3 separate regions of the Homo sapiens genome follow, and regions 2 and 3 are each linked to region 1. Evidence: promoter capture Hi-C in 16 types of primary human blood cells and fetal thymus (Javierre and others, 2016). All regions are on one chromosome and are shown on one strand. The core of a region is centred on a gene start or on the middle of the fragment in contact, and the rest is flanking DNA. Distances in the headings are between cores, read along the strand shown.

Region 1 (2,700 bases), core at 167-2,666:
CTTGGCCCACATCAGTCGATCTGAGGACAGAAAAGACCCAGGCGCCCTTAGGGCTATGGGTGGTGGTGACGACACCTGAGAACTTTGGAGACATGCTGGGATGACAGTCAATGTAGTCACACAGCCGGGGCATCCTTGCACTGACTGATTGGCACGGAGCCTCCTCGTGCCAGGGCAATCCCTTTCATGCTAGAGGGCCCTGGGGAGGGGCTCATGCCTCAAAGGTCCTAGCAAACTCGGGGCAAACTCAGGGCGGCTTCTCCTCTCCAACCGGAAAGGGAGAATTTGACCTTTCTGTCAATCTGCATAGCCCATGCTCTGTGGCTGTTGGTCAGCCTTGGGAGCTTGGATCTAAGACGTGCCCGCTCCCTCCTGTGGCTCCCACCCCAAGTCCACGCCACTCACGGGCTCCCTGGAAGGGCAGCTCCAGGCTCTTGGCGCCATAGAGGTTCCTCGCGGTGCAGATGACGCGGGGCGGGGCCTGGGCCTGCCCCCGCAGCGTGAGGATGCTGGTGAGCACGAGGCCGCTGCGCTCCGAGTACACGAACTCCCGCTCGCTCTCGTTCACGGTCACATTGCGCGATGGCAGCTCAAAGGCCACGGACGGCTCCGGGTTGGACTTCACCACGCACAGGCACTGCACCGTGTCTCGGGCTGCCGCGCAGTGGGACTCCAGGAGGAGCACAGGGGCGACTGCAGGGGCAAAATCAGGTCTGAGGGTGGCCCGGAGCCAACGCGAGGCCCGGCCCCGGAGACTCCTTGGCTCAAGGCAAGGCCAGTGTGGCCAAGGATGGGGGCGGTAGCTTCCTGTAGGGCCCTCCAATTTCCCCTCCTTTTTTCTCTGTCCTGACTGAGAGCGCCTTGACCTCACTACGACCCCGCCGGCTGCCTGTTTTCACTGCAAGCTTCACTAACCCACGCCTGGGGCCTTGAACATTCCCAGGCACTGATAAAGGTGTTTAGGTTGTTGCTCAAAACACTGAAAGAGGCCGGGCATGGTGGCTCACTGCTGTAATCCTAGCACTTTGCGAGGCCGAAGAGTGAGTGGATCACTTGAGGTCAGGAGTACGAGAGGTTACAGAATGAGACGCTGTCTCAAAAAAACCCCAAACAACAACAACAACAAAAATGAAAGAATGAAAGAAACCAGCCCCAGCCCTGGGCCAAATTCCTTAAACCCTCATGTAAACCCATACCCTGACCCTCACGGACGTGTCTGGGTAGACCCTCCCTTTCTCTCGCCGTAGCACTGTGCAAGTTCCCCTCCCAAATGCTTTGGACTGATGATCACCTGGTGGTTTAGTGCCTCTCTCTTTGGAATCCCAAGTGGCCTCATTTCGGGGTGGTTTGGGGTGCTCTCTTGGGGCAATTCTTCTGGTGCCACTTTTGAGGCGACTCTAGCCTCAGCTTCAGCCTGGACAGAGCACTATGTCACAGGGACGGGCCGTTTCTCCTGGGCCCTGGCTCTTACACTCTCTCTAACCTCATTCACCTTGTAATACATAAATCAGATCATGGCACTCTCTGCTCAAAACCCTCCTTCTGTTGCTCCGTGGTTCACCTAAAATACAAATCCTTTATTTTTTATCGTTTAGAGACAGGGTCTGGCCCTGTCGCCCAGGCTGAAGTGCAGTGGCAGTACTATAGCTCATTTGCACTCTTGGCCTCTAGTGATCCTCCCGCCTCAGCCTCCCAAAGTGCTGGGATTACAGGCATAAGCCACTGCGCCCAGCCACATTTGACCATTTTTGACATGCAGAAAAAATTTCACATAGTTCAATGTAATGTATACAGCAAAAAGTACGAATATTCACCCTAAATGAAATCAGTATAGATTACAAACAGCCTTGTGTTCTTTAGGCGAGATTTTGCTGTCAAATCAGGGTGGTGCCAAATTTGCAAAAAGCCTTTTGATTTTAAAGCTTTATGTTCAGAATTGCAGAGGACGGTAAATCTGTCATACTCATGATAGTTACTGGAGGGTTTTTGTTTGTTTTTGTAGAGACAGGGTCTTGCTATGTTCCCCATGCTGGTCTTGAACTCCTGAGCTCAAGCAATCCTCCTGCCTTGGCCTCCCAAAGTGCTGGGATTATAAGGCGCAAGCCACTGTGCCCAGCCCAAAATACAAAGTCTTTCATCTACAAGGCCCCTCAGGCCCTGCCTGACCACACACTCTCTCCTTCTCTCCCCCTGGCTTAGTCCTTTCCAGCCACACCGGTTCCTTGCTGTGTCTGAAAATCGTGGAGCTTTCTCCCACTCCAGGGTCTGTACGTTTCTCCCTCAACTTGGAACACTTCCATCAGTTGCCTGTGGAACGCCCTCCCTCGCTCCAAACTGGCCTCTACCCATGCGGCGTCTCCTTCTCTGACCACCCAGGGAAGCTGCACCTCGCTCCACGTATCATTCACTCCCTGCCTCACTCAGTTCTCCTCCCCAGCACTCACCCTCCCTGCATCACACACTTACATAAGGGGCCTCCTGTTTCCATCAAGACAGGGGCTTGCTCCTTCTCCACTCTGGGCCCCACACGTAGAAGGGAGGAACCATGGAACTCTCCCAGCCCCCGGCCTCCCCAGACCCTTGGGGCTCACACAGGCTTAGACTATCCCCTCCTTTCTGGCTTCCAGGCTGTGCTCCTTCCTTTCAGTCTGCGCTGCAGATGCCCCCCACTTCCTCCCCTAAAGCCGCCTTGAACCCCGG
Region 2 (2,700 bases), core at 141-2,640, 200 kb after region 1:
ATTCTGAAAGCTGGTTCCCTTCCTGGAAGGGGGTGGAGTGGGAGGGGTGTGGCTGTGTGTTTTCCAATAGCCAACAATGGAACTCTTGTAGGCAGGGGCCCTCGGGCCTAGAAAACACATCCACCCCTGTGGGTTCTAGACAAAAGTTTCAGGTCTCAGAGTGGAGGTTTACCAGGGCATTTACACTCTTTGAAGATTGTTAAGAAGAAATACTGGTTTCGGGGGACATAGGGACACAGGGGTGGATTCCCATTTTGCCCTCTCTCCCTGCAAGAAGTAGCTGCCAGAGATGGGGGGTAGGGGCAGGATCTCTCCCACCTACAACTCCTGAGTAGGATTAGATAGGCTTAAGAAAACCTCTGGGCTGCACTGATTGGCTCAGTGGGGTTTAATCAAAGTGAAGCATTGGAATTTTTGTTGAGTACTTGGGGTAAGAAAAGATTCGGGTTTTGGACAATGGGGAATACACATTTAATGACTGGAAAATTGGCAGTTATTTTGCCATCACAAGAAAAGCCAGCCTGAGGACAAAGCTAATGCTATAGAGAAACACAGACCAAGAGAAATGCTGAAAAACTGAGTTAGCACCCTGATCAAACCATGCCTGATCTCCCTCTGGAATTTTCAGTTATGTAATTAGTCTAAAAATCATAAAACACAGTCTGTGACTGGTTTGAGTTACCTTTTATGAGGCTTTCTGTAACCAAAACAGCCAAAGTGGTATATAGGGAACTTCTGTGGACCCAGAATCTCTACACTTTCACTAGGCTATCACATGATTTTTACTTAGTTTGAGCCAATGTATTTCTTTTAGCTTCAATCGGTTCAAGAGTCTCTAGATGCCAATGAGTGCTTACCTCATCAGGTCGGGGCTCTCTCTGCAGACAAACCTGGGTCCCATGAACCTACATCTTTGAAATGAACACAATGGGACTGCTGGACTTGTTTCTCCTTCCCAATTTCCACCTTGAAAAGGCGCAATGAGCTGGAGGAGCCACAGGACTTGGTAAAAGCAGAAGCGCAAGTGCCTGGAAACTCAACACTCTTCCGGTCAAAGGAGGCGACGTGTGAGTGCATGGTTGCTTGATAAATGCCAGGGGAGAGTGGGTGGCACCCAAAGATGCCCCTGAGGGTCTCACATCTCTGCCCCGGCCCACAGGAGGACGGGGAGCAGCACACGGCGTGGGTGGAGGCCTGGCAGTGGCAGAATTGCTCACAGCGCTCCCCAGTCCAGAAGGCCTCCCCAGCCGGGTGGTGGTACCTGCCCCCCATGGAGCAGCTGCACTGGATTGGGGGCACGCAGTCCATGCCACTGAGCACAAAGCCTGGGTCACACTGGCAGCCATCCTGGCATGGTGTCAGGCAGCTGTCGGGCAGGGCAGGCTCGGCACAAGAGCTAGGACAGGAGGAGCCGCAGAGCTCGTAATTGCTGCGGGGAGGACAGGCCAGCTCTGGAAGAAAACAGGTAGGAGTTAAATAATTGAGCAAGCATTACTATTCTGGAGCATTTCCAACCAGAATAGGACCAAGGGAGCGGAGAGAGGGTTGTGGGGGCCAAGGGTAAGTCATAAAGGCAAAGGAGGGGAGGTGGAGGCATCATCAGGATGTAGCATAATGGTGGCGGCGTGGTCACGGCGGTGATAACGGTGGCGGCGTGGTCACGGCGGTGATAACGGTGGCGGCGTGGTCACGGCGGTGATAACGGTGGCGGCGTGGTCACGGCGGTGATTAACGGTGGCGGCGTGGTCACGGTGGTGATAATGCTGGTGGCGTGATCATGGTGGTGATAATGGTGGTGGTGGTGGTCGTGGTGATAGTAATGATGATGATGGTGGTAGGGCTGGTGATGTTGTTGGTGATGTGATGGTGTTGATGGTGATGGTAATGATAGCGGTGATGGTGACAGTGATGATAGTGGTGAGGGTGGTGGTGGTGGTGATGACAATAGTTGTGGTTGTGGTAACAATGATGGTGGTGGTAGTGATAATGGTGATGGTGATTATAGTAGTGATGGTGATGCTGATGCTGGTGGTGATGGTGATGCTGGTGGTGATGGTTATGATGGTGATGATGATGTTGATGGTGGTGGTGGTGGTGATGATGATGGTGATGGTGGTGATGGTGATGATGGTGGTGATGGTAGTGGTGATGATGGCTGTGGCTGTGGTAACAATGATGATGGTGATGGTGGTGATGGTTGTGGTTGTGGTAACAATGATGGTGGTGGTAGTGATGATGGTAATGCTTGTGGTGATGGTGGTGGTGGTGATGATGGTAATGCTGGTGGTGGTGGTGGTGGTGAGGCTGGTGGTGGTGGTGATGGTGACGCTGGTGGTGGTGGTGATGGTGACGGTAATGATGATAGTGACTGTGATGATGACAAAGGTGACGAAGATAGTGATGAAGAAACAACCTTGGTCATGCTGGGTCATGTTCAGGTTAGTTCGTTACTTCAGCATAACCCAGACCATCCTGACTGATGCAATAGCACTCAGTGTCATCTGTTATTGTTATTGCAGAGTTTTAAGCAGGTAGGTTCTTCGCGGGAACAGTTAGCCAGAAAGGCATGCAGTGGGTCACTTTGGGTGGTGTTGACCTAGGAGGACATCCTGGAAGTGGTATTGGGCCAGCTGGGGAGGTCAGGCTGAGAAAGACCCTCCCTGGGAATACCCACTTACTGCAGGCCAAGAGGTGTCTCCA
Region 3 (2,700 bases), core at 102-2,601, 220 kb before region 1:
AGACCTTGTGGCCTGAGGCTGGACTATAGGTGTTTCCAGTGGCTGTCCAAGTTCATGAAGGTGTTAGTGTTTATTGGTGAACTTGAGGATGTTTGCATCCTTGGGGGTTGTTTCTGCTATGGGAGAAAGGGGATTTGTCCACCTGGTTCAGGTGGGAATCTGAGCCCAATGGGTGACCCTTCCGAAGAAAACTCAGATGGTCCTCCTCTCCCAGCACTCCCAGCCTTGCACTCTCTTCCCCTCCACTGTAGGGGTGGGGTCCCCCGGTTGGAGAAAAGCCTGGGGGCTAGCTGGGTGCTGCCCCCAGCTCCTCACTGCGTCCTCCCACTGAATCCCGAGAGGCATGCGCTATAAACCCACTTTACAGAGGGGAAAATGAAGCCTGAGGCCACGGAGCAGTGATGCGCAGGGCAGGGGTTCAAGTCTCATGAGGCTGGTAAGCCTGTCTGCTCCTGTGTCTTCCAGGGTCTCCTGGACCAAAGCCCCAGCCCCACCTACCCCTGCGGCCCCCGCCCTTGGGAAGTGAGGGAACAGTGTGGGAATGGAGGCAGCCCACCGGAAGACCTGGTTCCTCCGGCTAGAGTGAGTGAGTGAGTGTGTGTGTGTGTGTGTGCGCGCGCGCGGGCGCGCCGCCCTTGTTGAGAGACTAAGGAAGTAGTTTGCCCTCTCTTAACCTCTGTTGGCCGCTCTGTAAACTGCGGGCACACTCTGGCCTTCTCAGGTGGTGGTGAGGCTTCCCTGAGCTCTCGCCTGCGAAGTGGTCAGCACGTCCCCGGCAAGGTTCCAAGTGTCCTTGTTTTGTGCATCACAGGGAGGGCAAAGCTCACCTCACGCGAAGCGCCATGAACATCACTTTTACATGGAAGCCCAGCACCCCTGGGTTCTCCCTAAGCCCCTCCTAAGCCCGCCCACTTCCCGCCACTTTCAGGCTGCAGCCTCCGATGGCCCTCGTTTCTGCTCTTTCTACCGCGTGATAGCGGCGCGAAGCCCACCCAGCCCTGGGGGCGGAGGCCCGGTCTCCCCGCCATGGCAGTAAACCCCACTCTGCCAGCACACTGGCGGGTGTGGAGGGAGGGAGAGCGGCTGATCCCCTGGTCCCTAGATGGTGCACACGCCAGGAAGGGCGGTAGGGATACGGCACAGGTGTGAGGGTGCAGACGCTCCCCACTACCCTTTCCACCCCTCCCCCGCGCCCTCCGCTGCCTCCCTCACCCGGGCACGGCTGTCGCAGCAACTGGACAACGGTGACATTGGTGAGGACGATGTCGCGCTTCGACATGGCCTCTTATAAGGTTATCATTGGCCTGGACCTGCTGTGATGTTACCGAGGTGCGTGCGGAGCGCCAGGGCTGTGGGTCCTGGGCTAATTGCCCTGATGTCACAGCACCCAGTGACGTCACAGTACCCAGTGACGTCGCCGAGGGGCGGCGCCCAAGCCAGAGGCCTGACACCATCGCATCCCATCCCCGTAGAGGCATGGGACGTCAGCACGCTATGCATCACCGTTCCACGGCCACGCACTGCCGTCTGGAATGGAATCCCACTTTTTAAAATTATCATTTGTTTATTTATTTTGAGACGGGGTGTCACTCTTTCTCCTAGGCTGGAGTGCAGTGGTGCAATCATGGCTCACTGCAGCCTTGAACTCCTGGGCTCAAGCGATCCTCCCGCCTCGGCCTCCTGAGTAGCTGGGACTACATGTGCAGCCACCACTGCAGGCTATTTTTACTTTTTATTTTTTTGTAGAGAGAGGGTCTCACTCTTTTGCTCAGGCTGGTCTAGAACCCTTGGGCTCAAGCGATCCTCCCACCTCGGCCTTCCAAAATGCTGGGATTACAGGAGCGAGCCACCACACCCAGCCTGGAATCCCACCTTTTACACTGTTCCTGAAAGCCCTTTCCTCTTCTCTGTCTCTTGAAGCACACAGGTTCCATGCTGTCCCTTGGATTCTCCAGTGGAGTGACTCTTGCTGCCTCCGTATGCCTGGAAGGCCCACCCAGGGCTTCCCTTGGCTGCCTCTTGGTTTCCCACCCTTTAAGAGAGGCTTTCTACACTCTGCATCTAAGTTCCCTCCTTTCTCTGTCACTGTCAGCCGTCACCCCCTTCCCAATTTCTGCCCATCTTCCAGGAAGCCTTGTCTGACTTCTCCATTCTGAGTTATGCTTCAGTGTGCAAAATTTCTCTAGGGCTACACTGTCTATGTTTTTATTTTCCTTAGAGCACATGTCTCTCTAAAAATTGTTTGTTTTCTTGCCAACTGTCTCTGTCCACCAGACTGTAAGCTCTGAGAGGACAGGGACGTCATCTATGTCACTTCTGTATCCCATTGACAAGAAAAGTGTTTGGCACCTGAAAGGTGTTTGTGGGCTGGACGCAGTGGCTCATGCCTGTAATCCCAACACTTTGGGAGGCTGAGGTGGGAGGATCATTTGAGTCCAGGAGTTTGAGACCAACATGGGCAATGTGGCAAAACCCTGTATCTACAAAAAATAAAAAAAGTAGCCAGGTGTGGTGGTGCATGCCTGTTGTCCCAATTATTAGGGAGGCTGAGGTGGGAGGATCACTTGAGCCTAGGAGGTCAAGGCTGCAGTGAGCTGTGATTGTGTCACTGCACTCCAGCTGGGAGACAGAGCAAGACCCTGTCTGAAAAAGGCGTTAGCCCAATAAACTATACCTGAATGAATAAATGTCAATTCCTCA

Evidence for each region. The method cuts DNA at HindIII sites, captures the fragments that hold promoters and counts their contacts. A CHiCAGO score of 5 or more calls a contact.
Region 2: a contact is called between the fragment with the promoter of HPN-AS1 here and a fragment that was not itself captured in region 1, in 3 of 17 cell types (total CD8 T cells, naive CD8 T cells and naive CD4 T cells). The highest score is 6.1, in total CD8 T cells.
Region 3: the fragment with the promoter of GAPDHS here is called in contact with a fragment that was not itself captured in region 1 in 1 of 17 cell types (erythroblasts); the score reaches 8.8 in erythroblasts.

Annotation. Positions count from the first base shown.
Region 1 is chr19:35,307,867-35,310,566 of GRCh38, reverse strand. It overlaps MAG (myelin associated glycoprotein), which reads right to left. Exons shown (of 11, transcript NM_002361.4): 8 at 406-693; 9 at 1-20. Among named protein-coding and RNA genes, the nearest start is that of MAG, 17 kb to the right of the region's middle. The HindIII fragment of the contact is 1,017 bases long and covers 908-1,924 here.
Region 2 is chr19:35,104,994-35,107,693 of GRCh38, reverse strand. HPN-AS1 (HPN antisense RNA 1) reads left to right here and starts at 1,390. Exons shown (of 4, transcript NR_024562.1): 1 at 1,390-1,465. LOC124904701 (hepatitis A virus cellular receptor 1-like) reads right to left here. Exons shown (of 3, transcript XR_007067238.1): 2 at 858-2,700. The HindIII fragment of the contact is 15,680 bases long and covers 1-2,700 here.
Region 3 is chr19:35,532,107-35,534,806 of GRCh38, reverse strand. It overlaps GAPDHS (glyceraldehyde-3-phosphate dehydrogenase, spermatogenic), which reads right to left and starts at 1,351. Exons shown (of 11, transcript NM_014364.5): 1 at 1,213-1,351. The coding sequence starts at 1,279. RefSeq lists an enhancer at 365-494. The HindIII fragment of the contact is 5,250 bases long and covers 1-2,700 here.